Regions from separate parts of the Homo sapiens genome. Here region 2 is linked to region 1. The links are contacts of gene promoters, found by promoter capture Hi-C in human tissues and cell types (Jung and others, 2019). All regions are on one chromosome and are shown on one strand. The core of a region is centred on a gene start or on the middle of the fragment in contact, and the rest is flanking DNA. Distances in the headings are between cores, read along the strand shown.

Region 1 (7,468 bases), core at 3,202-5,701:
GTTGGCCAGTCTGGTCTCGAACTCCTGACCTCAGGTGATCCGCCCTCCTCGGCCTCCCAAAGCACTGGGATTACAAGCGTGAGCCACTGTGCCTGGCCCAATCATAGTTATTTTAAAGCCCTTGTTTCCTAACTCCAATATGTGGCTTATCTGTAATCTGCTTCTTCTGTTAGCTTTCCGCATGATTATTGATCACTGTTTCCTGCTGTGTCCTGTATCTCGTGCTTTCTGTCAGAGGTATGCCTCAAAGGACCGTGGGGGTCCATATCTAGGGACCGTGGGGGGTCCATATGTCGGGACCGTGGGGGTGTCTATATCTCGGGACCGTGGGGGTCCATATCTAAGGACCGTGGGGGTCCATATCTTGGGACCATGGGGGGTCTATATGTCAGGACCGTGGGGGTCTATATCTAAGGACCGTGGGGTTCTGTATCTCAGGACCGTGGGGGTCCATATCTAGGGACCGTGGGGGTCCATATCTAGGGACCGTGGGGGGTCCATATGTCGGGACCGTGGGGGTGTCTATATCTCGGGACCGTGGGGGTCCATATCTAAGGACTGTGGGGGTCCATATCTTGGGACCATGGGGGGTCTATATGTCAGGACCGTGGGGGTCTATATCTAAGGACCGTGGGGTTCTGTATCTCAGGACCGTGGGGGTCTGTATCTAGGGACCGTGGGGATCTGTATCTAGGGACCGTGCGGATCTGTATCTAGGGACTGTGGGAGTCTATATCTAAGGACCGTGGGGTCTATATCTAGGGACCGTGGGGGTCCATATCTCAGGACCGTGGGGATCTGTATCTCAGGACCGTGGGGGTCTGTATCTCGGGACCGTGGGAGTCTATATCTAGGGACTGTGGGAGTCTATATCTAAGGACCGTGGCGTCCATATCTAGGGACCATGGGGGTCCATATGTCGGGACCGTGGGGGGTCTATATCTCGGGACCGTGGGGGTCCATATCTAAGGACCATATGTCGGGACCGTGGGGTTCTGTATCTCAGGACCGTGGGGGTCTGTATCTAGGGACCGTAGGGATCTGTGTCTAGGGACCGTGGGGGTCTATATCTAGGGACTGTGGGAGTCTATATCTAAGGACTGTGGCGGTCTGTATCTCGGGACCGTGGGGGTCTATATCTCAGGACCGTGGGGCTCCATATCTCAGGACCATGGGGGTCTGTATCTAAGGACCGTGGAGGTCTATATCTCGGGACCGTGGGGGTCTCCATCTAAGGACTGTGGGGGTCTAGCTGCTCTCTTCCAACAGTGAGCACGTGGCCTCCCTCTCTAGTGCAGACAGGGAGAGGAGCTGAACATTTCGTCTACCCGCTCAGTTAGGGATTGGGCCACTTCAGTCAATCGTCCCTCTGTGTGGCTTTCCTGGAGTTTTGGTTAAGAGCCTGGCCAGTCCGTGTCTTCTTATCCCTGACAGGCTGTCAGAGAGTCACTTCTTTCCCTGAGGTACAGGCTTAGCTCTTTAGTTGTCTGCTCAGGCAGCTTCAAAATTTGGAAAATGTCTTAAGGGCCAGATTAACCTGTGCCTGGGGCAGGACCCCTTCCTCTAGAAAAGCTCTGTGTACTAAGCTCCACAAGGCTATGCGAGACTTCAGCGCACCTGCGGAGGCCTCAGGCCTCACTTCTTAGCCTCCCCAGAAATTTGCAAATGTCCCAGTTTTCTGCTCCAGCCCCTGTGGTTGCCAAGAGCCCTGCTGGGTATTTCTCCCAGTAGAATTCCTCTTCCCCAGTGGGACCGAGGCTCAGCTCATACCCAGCACTGGTTAATTCCTTAAAGGGAGAGAAGCCGACATTCAGCTCATCTTGGAAGGGCTCTCTCTGAATGTTTTCATCTGGTTCTTGTTGCTTCTACAGTTCTCCAATGTCTTTTTTATAGATACATTTTTCCGGTATTTCAAAATTGTGGGCCGGATGCAGTGGCTGACGCCTATAATCCCAGCACTTTGGGAGGGTGAGGCAGGTAGATCACTTGAGGTCAGGAGTTTGAGACCAGCCTGGCCAACATGGTGAAACCCCATCTCTACTAAAAATACAAACAAAACAAAATTAGCTGGGCATGGTGGCTCATGCCTGTAGTCCCAGAAACTCAGGAGGCTGAGGCAGGAGAATAGCTTGAACCCAGGAGGCAGAGGTTGCAGTGAGTGGAGATCACACTACTGCACTCCAGCCTGGGCAACAGAGTGAGACTCCATCTCAGAAAAAAAAAATTGTGGTAAGATACATACGGTAGGATTTCCTGAAGTTATTTATTTATTTATTTATTTATTTATTTATTTATTTATTTTACCATCTGAGTTCTGTAATTAATGTGGCCTTCTCTGGTTGCTGCAATGGGATTGCTGACCTTCCATATACATCCCCTCTGGAATGTCATATTTGCATTCTTCTGGCTTTTTTTGTTTGTTTTTTGTTTTTTTTGAGACGGAATCTTGCTCTGTAGCCCAGGCTGGAGTGCAGTGGCGCGATCTCGGCTCACTGCAGCCTCCGCCTCCCGGGTTCACACCATTCTCCTGCCTCAGTCTCCTGAGTAGCTGGGACTACAGGCGCCTGCCACCATGCCCGGCTAAATTTTTGTATTTTTAGTAGAGAGGGGGGTTTCACCGTGTTAGCCAGGATGGTCTCAATCTCCTGACCTGGTGATCCGCCCCCCTCGGCCTCCCAAAGTGCTGGGATTACAGGCATGAGCCACCGCACCTGGCCGCCGGCATCTTTAATTCAGACTGCCAGCTTCCAGAACCCTGAGAAATACACTTCTGTTGTACATGCCAGTCCATGGTGTTCTGTTACATCAGCCCAAAGAGAATAAGACCGCGTGGTAACAGGCCATGATGACCCCCTAGTGATTGCTTTTGCCTGATCAAGGCAAGGCACCCCCGCCCTGAGCCAGATGCTGAGAGGGTGTGGTAGAGGCTGCACGGCAAGGGGCTGAGCCAGGTGGCTGCTGGTGCTCCTGCCTCTGACCGCCACCATGTATCCAGGATCCCTGCTGGCCAGGGCGCCCACCTGCCTGCTCCGGTTTGGTTCAGGGCCGGTGTGTGTGTGTGTGTGTGTGTGTGTGTGTGTGTGTGTGGTTCCCAGGGGACCCAGTGTAGCCACAGATGCCCCCCACCTGCCTCGAGAGGGAAATAAACATAAATATACCAAGACAGCTATGGGGTGCTGGGGTGAGCGGTTTATTGGATGTTTAAAGGACAGAGATCTGAACTCCTAGTGACTGCAGAGTGAGCAAGCACCCTGGGCTGTCCTGCAGGGCTGTCCGTGCTGGATGTGGTGCCAGCAGGCAGGGCTTGCGGATAGGCATTTGCTGCAGGTGGCTGGGGCGGTGGGGGGCTGGTCTCCAGATGCCTGGAAGGGAGGCCTTGAAAGTCATTCTTCTTGGATGCATGGGCCCATGGCATTTCTTGGTAGAAGGTCAAAGAGAAGTGTTCATGCTTGGCAAGGCAGGAGGGTGGGAGATAGGGTAGTGGGTGGGGAAGGAGAGTCTGGCTCACTGGGTGCCAGGAAAAGGAGGTAAAGGCTGGGCAGGAATGCCTGGCCATGGTAAGAGTCCTGCAAAGCCAGAAATCAGATCTTGCACTGGCAGCACACGGGGACACAGCAACTGGACTGGGAGCAGCAGGGCTTGCAGCAGCTGGATTGGCAACAGGATGACCCACAGCCTGAGGAACAGCAGCAGGGCTTACAGCAACTGCACTGGGAGCAGGATGACCCGCAGCCTCCCTTAGACCCCGCGCAAGAGCCACAACTGGAACAGGAACAGCAACACACGGGCACACCGCAGCCGGAGCCACAGCCCCCACAGCCGGAGCCACAACCCCCCTTGGATCCCCCACAAGAACCGCAGCCCCCCTTGCAGCCTCCACAGGAGCCACAGCCCCCCTTGGAGCCCCCACAAGAACCACAGGCCCCCTTGGAGCACCCACAGGAGCCACAGCCCCCTTTGCCACAGCTGGAGCAGGAACAAGCTGGCACACAGCAGCACATGGGCTTGCAGCAGCAGACAGGCACACAGCAGCTGGAGCCACATCCCCCACAGCCGGAACCACAGCCACCCTTGGATCCCCCACAAGAGCCACAGCCCCCCTTGGAGCCCCCACAGGAGCCACAACCCCCCTTGGATCCCCCACAAGAGCCACAGCCCCCCTTGCAGCCTCCACAGGAGCCACAGCCCCCCTTGGAGCCCCCAGAAGAGCCACAGCCCCCTTTGCCACAGCTGGAGCAGGAACAGGTTGGCACACGGCAGCACACGGGCTTGCAGCAGCAGACGGGCACACAGCAGCTGGAGCCAGAACCTCCACAGCCAGAGCCACAGCCCCCACAGCCGGAGCCACAGCCCCCACAGCCGGAGCCACAGCCCCCACAGCTGGAGCCACAGCCTCCGGAGCAGCCGCAACAGCCCATGGTTCTGGTGGATTGAGGGTGGAGCAGGTAGAGGAGCAGGTGAGAGGGAGGTGCAGGTGTGGAGCTCCCTGAGCCTGGACCCTTTATATCCCTGCCCAGGGTCATGTGTGAGGCTGGGCACACATTTCCTGGTTCCTGTTTGTGCCATTTTTAGGGCCCCTTTTTCTTGTTTCCTCTAGAAATCCGCCCCTTGGTGTATGGGCTGCTCAGTGGGCTGCTGCTCTCTTGCTGAATCTGTGTCCAGACTTAATGGAGGCCCCCAAGGGTCTAGCCTCTCCCTGTTGACTCCAGAGTCACACTGGATTTACAAAAGCATCTATTTTAGGCTGGGCATGGTGGCTCACACCTGTAATCTCAGCACTTTGGGAGGCCTAGGCAGGTGGATCACTTGAGGTGAGGGGTTGGAGACCAGCCTGGCCAAAATGGTGAAATCTCGTGTCTACTAAAAACACAAAAATTAACTGGGTGTGGTGGCTCACATCTGTAATCCCAGCACTTTGGGAGGCCGAGGCAGGTGGATCATTTGAGGTCAGGAGTTGGAGACCAGCCTGCCCAACATGGCAAAACCCCATCTCTACTAAAAATACAAAAATTAGCCAGGCATGGTGGTGCATGCTTGTAACTCCAGCTACTTGGGAGGCTGAGGCAGGAGAATGGCTTGAACCCAGAGGTGAAGGTTGCAGTGAGCAGAGATCACACCACTGCACTCTAGTGTGGGCAACAGAGCGGGACTCTGTCTCAAAAAAAAAAAAAAAGTGATCTATTTTAGTTGAACGATGGTATAAAGAGTAATATATTTAAAAAATGTAAAAAAAAACCCTACTCAACTTGGGAAAAAATGGCATAAATAAATGAAGTCTCTGTTCCTCCATCTCTCCATATTGTTTCTGTCCCACCCTAATAATTTCTTGAATTTGGAATTCACCACTCTCATGAAGGTCCTCACACTCCTACTTAATATGTATGTTCCTTTAAAAATGTTTTGTGGCCAGGCGCGGTGGCTCACACCTGTAATTTCAGCACTTTGGGAGGCTGAGGTGGGCGGATCATTTGAGTCCAGGAGTTTGAGACCAGCCTCACTAACATGGTGAAACCTCGTCTTTACTAAAAATACAAAAATTAACCAGGTATGGTGGCATGTGCCTGTAATCCCAGCTATTCGGGAGGCTGAGGCAGGAGAATCGCTTGAACCTGGGAGGCAGTGGTTGCAGTGAGCTGAAATCACGCCATTGCACTCCAGCCTGGGCAACAGAGTGAGACTCTATCTCAAAAAAAAAAAAAAAAAAAGAAAAGAAAAAAGAAAAAAAAATTTTACATGCTGAAAACTTTATGTAATGGGTATTACACTGTATTTCTCTTTCTGTAAATTGCTTTTGAAAAAAATAGGTGTTAGGCTAAAGAGATTTTCTCTAGGGATACATATGGTTTTAATTTATTTGTTTTCTCTGATTTCTAAATATACATTGACTTATCCATTTACTTGTTGATGGACCTTTTGTTTCCTTTTTGTTGCTATTTCAAGCAAGCTGCAACTTTCTTGCCCAAAACCCCTCCTGCAGGTGTGGGTGCCTGAAAGTCAGGAGGTTCTTGTTACCAAGCTGTCTTCCCAAGGGATCCCCCCAGCCAGCTGCTGTCCAACCAGCATTGCCAGAGAGCTCCTGTTTCCTGGCACCCCCACCAAAACTTGCAACTGTCAACTTACACCCTTCATGTGGGTGTGTAACACAGTGTTACACACTGTGGTTTAATATTCCCTCTTCCTGGTTACTAGCCATGCTGTGCCTCTTTCCATATGGTCACCTGTCATTAGAGTCTCGTTAATTTCACGTCCTTGGCCCACTTTACAAAATTGAGATAGTTATTATTATTAATTTTTGAGATGGAGAGTCTTGCTCTGTCTCCCAGGCTGTAGCGCAATGGTGCGATTTCGGCTCACTGCAACCTCCGCTTTCCATGCTCGAGCAATTCTCCTGCCTCAGCCTCCCGAGTATCTGGGATTACGGGCATGTGCTACCACACCTGGCTAATTTTTGTATTTTTAGTAGAGTCAAGGTTTCACCATGTTGGTCAGGCTGGTCTTGAACTCCTGACCTCAAGTGATCCACCCACCTCGGCCTCCCAGAGTGCTGGGATTACAGGTGTGAGCCACCACACCTGGCCAAGATCATTATTATTTTTATTGGTGTCTGAAGTTCTTTGAATTTTCTGGATTCTTTTATTTTGAGATGGAGTCTTGCTCTGTTGCCAGGCTGGAGTGCAGTGGCATGGTCTCGGCTCACTGCAGCCTCTGACTCCCTGGTTTGAGCAATTCTCCTGCTTCAGTCTCCCCTGGGATTACAGGCACGTGCCACCACACCCAGCTAATTTTTGTATTTTTAGTAGAGACAGGGTTTCACCGTGTTGGCCAGGCTGGTCTCCTGACCTCATGATCCACCTGCCTCAGCCTCCCAAAGTGCTGGGATTACAGGCGAGAGCCACAGCGCCCAGCCTTTTGTTTCTTCTTCTTCTTCTTCTTCTTTTTTTTTTTTTTTTTTTTGAGACAGAGTCTCGCTCTGTTGCGCAGGCTGGAGTGCAGTGGTGTGATCTCGGCTCACTGCAACCTCTGCCTCCGAGTTCAAGCAATTCTCCTGCCTCATCCTCCTGTGTTTCTTCTTAACATAGATGTCATTTATTCTAAGTTTTTCAAATTTATTGGGATGTACTTTTCATAGTTGCCTCTGTTTTTGAAGATGGGATCTTGCTATGTTGTCCAGGCTGGGGTGCAGTGGCCGTTCACAGGCACCATCATAGCTCACTGCAGTCTCGAACTCACGCCTGGCCTCAAGTGGTCCTCAGCCTCTGAAGTAGCTGGGACTACTACAGACTACCACATTTGACTACTACAAATCCCTACCGTGTGCCACCACGCCTGGCTTAGTAGCCTGTTATTTTTAATAGCTGCTAAATTTGTCATTATTTGCTTTCTTTTCTTTCTTTTTTTTTTATGGCAGGGTCTCACTCTGTCACCCAGGCTGGAGTACAGTGGTGTGATCTCGGCTCACCACAACCTC
Region 2 (7,468 bases), core at 3,593-6,092, 220 kb before region 1:
ATTTATTTATTAATTTATTTATTTTGAGATGGAGTCTCTCTCTGTCACCCAGGCTGGAGTGCAGTGGCGCGATCTCGGCTCACTGCAAGCTCTGCCTCCCGGGCTCATGCCCTTCTCCTGCCTCAGCCTCCCGAGTAGCTGGGACTACAGGCGCCCGCCACCACGCCCGGCTAATTTTTTTGTATTTTTAGTAGAGACGGGGTTTCACCATGTTAGCCAGGATGGTCTTGATCTCCTGATCTCATGATCCACCCGCCTCGGCCTCCCAAAGTGCTGGGATTACAGGCATGAGTCACCGCGCCCGGCCCGTTGTTGCTTTTTCTTGTCTGGTGGTGAGTGGGTCCTCAAGTTCTTTGTGGGTTAGAGGCAGTGAGGGTGAGTTGTCTCATTCCTGATTTTATTTAAAAATGTGTAATTGTGATGGTTGCTGTGCTTTGTTTTTTTTTGTTTTTTTTTGGTTTTTTTTGCGTATTCCTTTTATAAAGTTAAAAAAATTATTTTATTCCTAGTTTGGTAAGAGTTTTATCTTAAAATACTGTTGAATTTTATCAAGTATTTATCTTGCCTCTATTGAAATTGACATGTGGTTTTTCTTTTTGCACTGTTTTTGTGGCAAATCACAAGGCTGGGCCATGGAGTGACTATCTCCTGGGAGACTCGGGCGGGTGAGCTGGTCATGCCTGAGCTCCACCCAACCTTCTGCACTCCTCAGTCTTCCGATTCCTTCTCCACTTCCCCGAGGAACTCAACTGTTGGATTGTAGGGAGCACAGAGGTTGAGAGGCTTTCGGGAGACCTGGGAAGGTGGGCTCTGGACAGGAGAGGCAGGGGAGTTGCTGCCTGGCCCCTGCTTTGTGCAGCACCAGGCACAGGCTCAGAAGATGCTGCCGCCACACTCAGGGCTCCTGGATGATGCCACGGGCAGAGGCTGACCCAGAACCATTCAGGAAAGACATCCCAAGTGGTGTAGTCCAAGCTTCTCCTGCGCTGTGGGAGGAAAGCACATGAGGGTGGGGGTGTGCAGGGCTGTGACCAGCAAACAGGCCAGCACGGCCTGCTTCTGGTCACTGGCCAGGCCTGCCCTGCTGCAGAGTGAAGACTTCCTGTAAGGCCACCCGGCTGCTCCCTCCCGGCGACGGCTCTGCAGTGAGGCCCACGCCACCCGGCTGCTCCCTCCTGGCTATGGCTCTCCAGTGAGGCCCACGCCACCCGGCTGCTGCCCCCCAGCGACGGCTCTCCAGTGAGGCCCACCTGCCATCCCCCCGCACGGGTAAACAGAGGCCTGTGAGTCGGTGTGGCAACCTCCAGTCCAGGCGAGCTGCTTTTCTAGGTCAACACTGGTCCTCTCTTGCCATCCTGTAAATCAGATACCAAGTTTAAAAGCTGACCACAGAAAACCAAACATTGTGTGTTCTCACTGATATGTGGGAGCTAAGCTGTGAGGACGCGAAGGCATAAGAATGATACAGTGGACTTTGGGGACTTGGAGGGGAAGAATGGGAGGGGGCGAGGGATAAAAGACAACAAATAGGGTGCAGTGTATACTGCTCAGGTAATGAGTGCACGAGGATCTCGCAGATCAGAGCTCAAGAACTCACTCCTGGAACCAAATACCACGTGTACCCCAATAACTTATGGAAAAATAAAATAAATAAATAAGTAAATAAATAAATGCTGACCACACCCCATGTAAAACAGCAGGGAAGGGCTCAAGGAGGGGAAGTGGTGGGAGGAGAAAACGTGCGTGGCTGCCCCAGCCCCGCCGCCGCCTCTGCACGGCACGGTGTCCTGTCCGTGGCTCCATAGCCATTGTGTTCTCAAAGGGACTGAGCCGTTATTCGTCCTTTTCTTTGGGGTTGTTCCAAAATGCCATCCATGGTCGGGCGCAGTGGCTCATGCCTGTAATCCCAGCATTTTGGGAGGCCGAGGCGGACGGATCACCTGAGGTCAGGAGTTTGAGACCATCCTGGCCAACATGGTGAAACCCCGTCTCTACTAAAAATACAAAAATTAGCCAGGCGTGGTGGCGGGCGCCTGTAATCCCAGCTACTCAGGAGGCTGAGGCAGGAGAATCACCTGAATCCAGGAGGCAGAGGTTGCAGTGAGCTGAGATCACACCACTGCACTCCAGCCTGGACGACAGAGCGAGACTCTGTCTCAAAAAAAAAAAAATAGCAAAACATAAAAACAACAAAATGTCATTCATGAACTTTGGCTTCCAGGTGGTCTTGGGGAGACTCCAGGCTCAGCCTCCTCCCGCTGCTCCCTTGAAGGAGCCGTCCTGACTGTCCTTGGCCGCCTGAGCCCGCTGCCCCAGCAGGAGGTCTACTGCTCTGGTGGCAAGAGGACTCCTGGGCCTGTGGCTGTCCAGGCGTCCCCTTCAGGGGAAGCGTGTGTGTGACGTGAATACTCCGCACCACCTCAGCACCTGCAAAACCCAGACGTGCTGACGCGGGGAGCATGGGCTTAGCCGGTGCGTCACTAGGGCCATGGTGCAGGGAACCACCCTGGGCCTACGTGTCCCGGCTCTGGGAGAACATCACACATGGACCTGGCCCACCTTGTGGGACCACACCCTCCAGAGGCCTCGTCCTGTAGACAGCTGTCACACATTGTCACACAAGTGAGCCTTCAACAGCCCATGATGGGGGTGACGTGGCCCAGGTACAGCAAGGGAACGCATGGGCCTGAGCCCTTTCTCTCCCTTTCCTCTGTGGAATGGGGCCCTGGGTCGCAGCTAATGCTTTGTGGAGGACCATGACAGCTGCTCAGACTCTGCATGTGGTGTCGGCAGAAGTGCCATGACCAGGGACAGAAACTCATGTCCAGAGGAAGCGTCTATTCCAACCGGGACACATCGTTGCACCCTCCCTGATGGAGGGGTCCAGTGAAACCAACCTCCCCCCGTGACCGGCTCATCCCGTGGGGAACAGTGCAGTTTCAGGCCCACAGCTCTGGCTCTCTGCTGTTGGTTGTTGGGCTTTTGGCCGTGGTGGGGGGCCCATGTCTGAGGCTGGGCGCAGCTTCCATGCTCACTGCTGTGGGCACTGCCCAGGAGCCATCAAGCATGCCTGGGGTGGCTGGTGACATCCCCAAAACAAGCCGTGTGTTCAGCTGGCTGTGATGAGCCTCCTCCGTGGACACGCAAATATCCCCACGTCCTGTGCCCCTCTGGAAAGGTTCGTCCACAAGTCTCTCCCCAGCCTCCTTGTCATCAACCTTTCAAACAGATGGCTTCCAAGTCCCGGACCATCCGGCAAACCGTTAGCCACATCCCCTGAAGAGGTCTGGTCCTGTCCTCTTGTCCAGGCACAGGACACAGCCAGTGAGGCCGCCCCAAGCGCTGCTCGCTAGGACGACGCCCCTGTCCTGCCTCCCTACAGGGCCATCCCCAGATGAGGCTGCAGCATTGCCCCGTGTGCTCTCAGCTGGTGCCAGTGTTGTCTGGAACTGTCTGGACCTACCTGGAAACTGAGTGTGAGTGTTTGATTCCTCACTCCCCTGGTGGCTGGGAATTGCCCTGGAAGGCACTGGTGCTTGTGGAGGGAGAAATGGCAATGTCTGGGTGTGGGTGCTGTGGGCCTGGGTGCTGTGGACGTGGGTGCTGTGCACGTGGGTGCTGTGGGCCTGGGTGCCGTGGGCCTGGGTGCCGTGGACGTGGGTGCATGGCACAGATGGGCGGCCACCTGAACGAGTGGGAGGAGTGCAGTCCCAGGCCCTCCCAGAGACTGTGCCATAGTCTCCACCCCAAGTGACGGTGGAGGGATGCTGGGAACGGTAAGCTTTAATGCTTGGTGAATCTTGCATTGCCTCATTCATGACCGGTAGGTCACGTGGTCATCTGACACTTCCATCTCTTCCGAGGCCCAGTGGAAAGCCAGGAGCTGGGTCTCCAAAGGAAAATGGTTACTTTCAGAAGAGGGCATGATTTTTCTCCAAAACGCTGGGTGGCTGAGCTGGGATTCTTCTGAAGGGTTTGTCGGAAGCTCCACACGGCATCCCTGTCTGACACGGACCTGTTGTCACCGTCTGATTTGCTGAGACACGCGTGCAGAGGTGCCTGATGGCAGCCTGGACCTGCTACAGAGCCTTCTGCTGCTGTAGGCCCCTTCAAAACTGACAGCCTCGGAGGCTTCCATATGGTCGAAGCAGCCTGCTTCAATATGGTGCATGAGCTCTCTGGGGTCTAAAAAGGCCTACCAAGCAGCATTGTGCCACCTTCTTAGTGCAAAGAACAGGAAGTTGGGTCAAGTATCTTATTATTATTATTATTAATCATTATTGTTGAGACAAGGTCTCACTCTGTTGCCCAGGCTGGAGTGTGGTGGTGCCATCACAGCTCACTGCAGCCTTGAACTCCTGGGCTCAAGCGATCCTCCTGCCATGGCCTCCCAGAGTGCTGGGATGACAGGTGTGAGCCCATGCCTGGCTGGGGGCACATATCTTCATATATCCCAGACCACAGGATGTCTAGAAATTTCACTGAAATGACAGAATCCTTCATTTTGTGAGGTGCGTCTCCTACTATGGAGGCACGAAAGGGCCTTACTAAGACAGTTAGAGTATTTACTACTTCCTGCCACCAGGTCTGATCTCCATTACACCATCGGCATAGTGAACTGGCACTTTGTCCCATGGGATGGCCAGGACTGAGATGGTCAAGGGCCCTGAGGTCTATATTTTGACAAAGGGATGGACGATGGGCACAGTTCTGAGAAGCACGAGCCGGGGTGTATTGCTGTCCCTGCCAGGTGAAAGTAGCCTTCCCCTGTGGCTCAGCTGTTGTGTGTGGAAGGAAACGTTGGTCAGATGAGTTTCCTCATGGAAGCCATGGCTGGGTGTTCCATCACACGAGGTACATCTGGAGGGGCAGATGCAATTGGAGTCCCCACCCGATTGTGTTTGCAGCCATCCACAGTCACTCTCCAAAATCCACCTCTGTCCTTCACAGGCCAAAGAGGTGAAGCAAAACGATGTGATAGGAAGCTGAGATATCGGCTGGGCACAGTGGCTCACACCTGTAATCCCAGCACTTTGGGAGGCTGAGGCGGGTGGATCACCTGAGGTTGGGAGTTTGAGACCAGCCTGGTCAACATGGTGAAACCCTGTCTCTACTAAAAATACAAAATTAGCCGGGCATGGTGGCGCACGCCTGCAGTCACAGCTACTCGGGAGGCTGAGACAGGAGAATTGTTTGAACCTGGGGGACAGAGGCTGCGATGAGCCAAGATCACACCACTGCACTCCAGCCTGGGCGACAGAGCAAGACTCTGTCTCAAACAAACAAACAAAAAAAGAGGAATCCAGGATACCGTTGCCAGTATGCACTGTAAATCTTTCTCCTAGATTTCTCTGAAGAAGTCTGCAGCCCTTTGGCAGCGTGGCTGCAGATGGAAGGAAGGAAACAGTTCGCCCTGGAGAATGGCTAGGCAGCACCTCTGAGCCGAGCATCCCACCCGCTCTGACTGGCCCACAATCGTGGGGCCAGTGGTATCTCAGAGCCCTTCTGTAAGGAGGTCTGGTCCCCCGGCATTCAGGGGTTCTGAGCTGCTCAGTTCTGGGATATGGGGAAAAGCCAGGATTCTCCACCATGCTGGCTGACGCCATTTCTCTGTTCACCAGACCTACAGGGTTTTGTCACTTACAGTGATTGCCATGGTCTGAATGCTTGTGTCCTCCTCGAAAGGTAGGTATTGAAACCTAATCACCAAGGTGATGGTGTTGGGAGGTGGGACCTTCAAGAGGTGGCAAGGTCATGGGGGCAGAGCCCTCATAAATGGATTGGTGCCCTTATGAAAGGGGCCCATGGGAGCCTTGTTTGCCCCATGTACGGGTGCAGCCGGAAGTTGCTGTCTGAGAGGAAACTGGCCTCCACCAAACACAGCTGGCACCTTGGTCTTGCACTTCCAGCCTCCAGAACTGTGAGACATGTTTCTGTCATTTATAAGCCACCCAGATCTTTAATGATATTTTTGTTATGGTAGCCCAAACAGACTAAGACAGAGACCAGAGAACACTTTGGCAGGCTACTTACGTGTTTTAGTCCTGGGGACACTTCAATCAGTTAGACATTCCCCAAAGTCCTACAGGGTGAAGGACACAGTTGCTGCCCTGGCCCTGTCACCCATTGAGACCAGGACACCCCATTGTGCTGGAGCTGCTACCTGGTTGCCAACACTCAGGCAGCCTGTTCAATGAGAGCAACTTGCACCACTATCTTGGTCCACAGAGCCTTCCAAGATGCGGTGCCCTCCATCAGCATATTGCCACGCCTTTCTCTCCCAGGATGCATTGCTGGGATGGATGAACAGGGCCATGCGATAAATCCTCTAACGTTGCCACGTCTGTGCTTTTGCCTCCTTTCCTCTCCGTTGTATGGAGGAAGTTCTGACAGCTCACTTCATTTCACGTGGTGTGCAAGCTTCTGTCAAACAACGGAACAAACTATGAGAACCACTTCCAGCCACTGCTTCTGCACACTTCTCTGCTAAGTGAGTCTCTGCTGTGTGAGTCTCATTGGTAAAACTACCCTGATCTAACATTCTGTTACCTCCTTTGTGGTCCAACACTCCAAGAGTCCACGGCCTCAGACGCCCCTGGGTTTCTGCTGATGTAAATTGGCAAAAACTTGCATTCAGTGTGTATGTGGCTCCTCTTGGGTCTCACTGTGTGTTTATCCCTCTGCACCCAACTCTAGTCATGGCTCTGGGAATAATGAGGGTCGGTGGAGGTGGATCTCAAGGGAGATCTGTCATCTTGCAAGGCTGTTTCCTCAAGTGAAGCCATCACAGATCTTTGGGCACAGTTTTACTCACCTCAGACTCTAAGGAAGAGTCACTTCTGCTTACAGGGAGACTCAGGAAGGTCTAATGTTCAGGGGACTCAGAGTCAGAGAAATCCACCCTCTCCAGTTCTCGAGGTCTCATTCTTTCCAAATAAATGCCTTAACTTTGACTTAAGAGATTTAGTAAGACATTTAATTATTCTTTAGTTGTAATTCATTAGCCTGCAAGATCAAATTTGTACTCTGCATTTAAAAAAAAAAGTTGACTCTACAGCTACAAGAACTAAAATGGTTTTTTTAGGACAGCTATAGAAGGGCTCTGGTTCTCTGTCTATACCTTCAGCTGAGCACTTAAGGCCACAGCTTGTCATTTTCTTTGTCAGTTCCCCAGTGCAATAAGCAGCAGCCACCCCATGCCACATCCTTGTATGCATGGTTTCCATCCACATCCTAATGTCCTATTGCAAGAGCCCCCTGGTGTCTGAAACCCAGGCTTGTGATGGGCACTGCATCGCAGAGACCTCAAGGTAATGATTTTACCAGTGACAATGTTTATAGATTATCTGCATCCTGCTTCCCACTCCTCACGTGGTCCTCACTGACATCAGACAAAACCTGGTCTGTCCAATTACTAACTCCAGATTCCCATCTTCAAGGTTCTGCCTTCCTGGAAACACTGCTGGTA

What was found. Contacts are between HindIII fragments. The study calls those that stand out against the background at their distance.
Region 2: a fragment that was not itself captured here is called in contact with the fragment with the promoter of KRTAP5-1 in region 1 in 3 of the 25 tissues and cell types used here (small bowel, spleen and thymus).

The regions. Positions count from the first base shown.
Region 1 is chr11:1,580,832-1,588,299 of GRCh38, forward strand. It overlaps KRTAP5-1 (keratin associated protein 5-1), which reads right to left and starts at 4,452. Exons shown (of 1, transcript NM_001005922.1): 1 at 3,511-4,452. The coding sequence starts at 4,418. The coding sequence ends at 3,582. The region is part of intron 1 of KRTAP5-AS1 (KRTAP5-1/KRTAP5-2 antisense RNA 1); the gene reads left to right. The HindIII fragment of the contact is 15,838 bases long and covers 1-7,468 here.
Region 2 is chr11:1,357,333-1,364,800 of GRCh38, forward strand. LINC02689 (long intergenic non-protein coding RNA 2689) reads left to right here. Exons shown (of 5, transcript XR_930972.2): 2 at 3,383-3,476; 3 at 5,346-5,515; 4 at 5,622-5,685; 5 at 6,229-7,468. Among named protein-coding and RNA genes, the nearest start is that of LINC02689, 11 kb to the left of the region's middle. RefSeq lists enhancers at 1,903-2,404, 2,405-2,904. The HindIII fragment of the contact is 4,928 bases long and covers 2,379-7,306 here.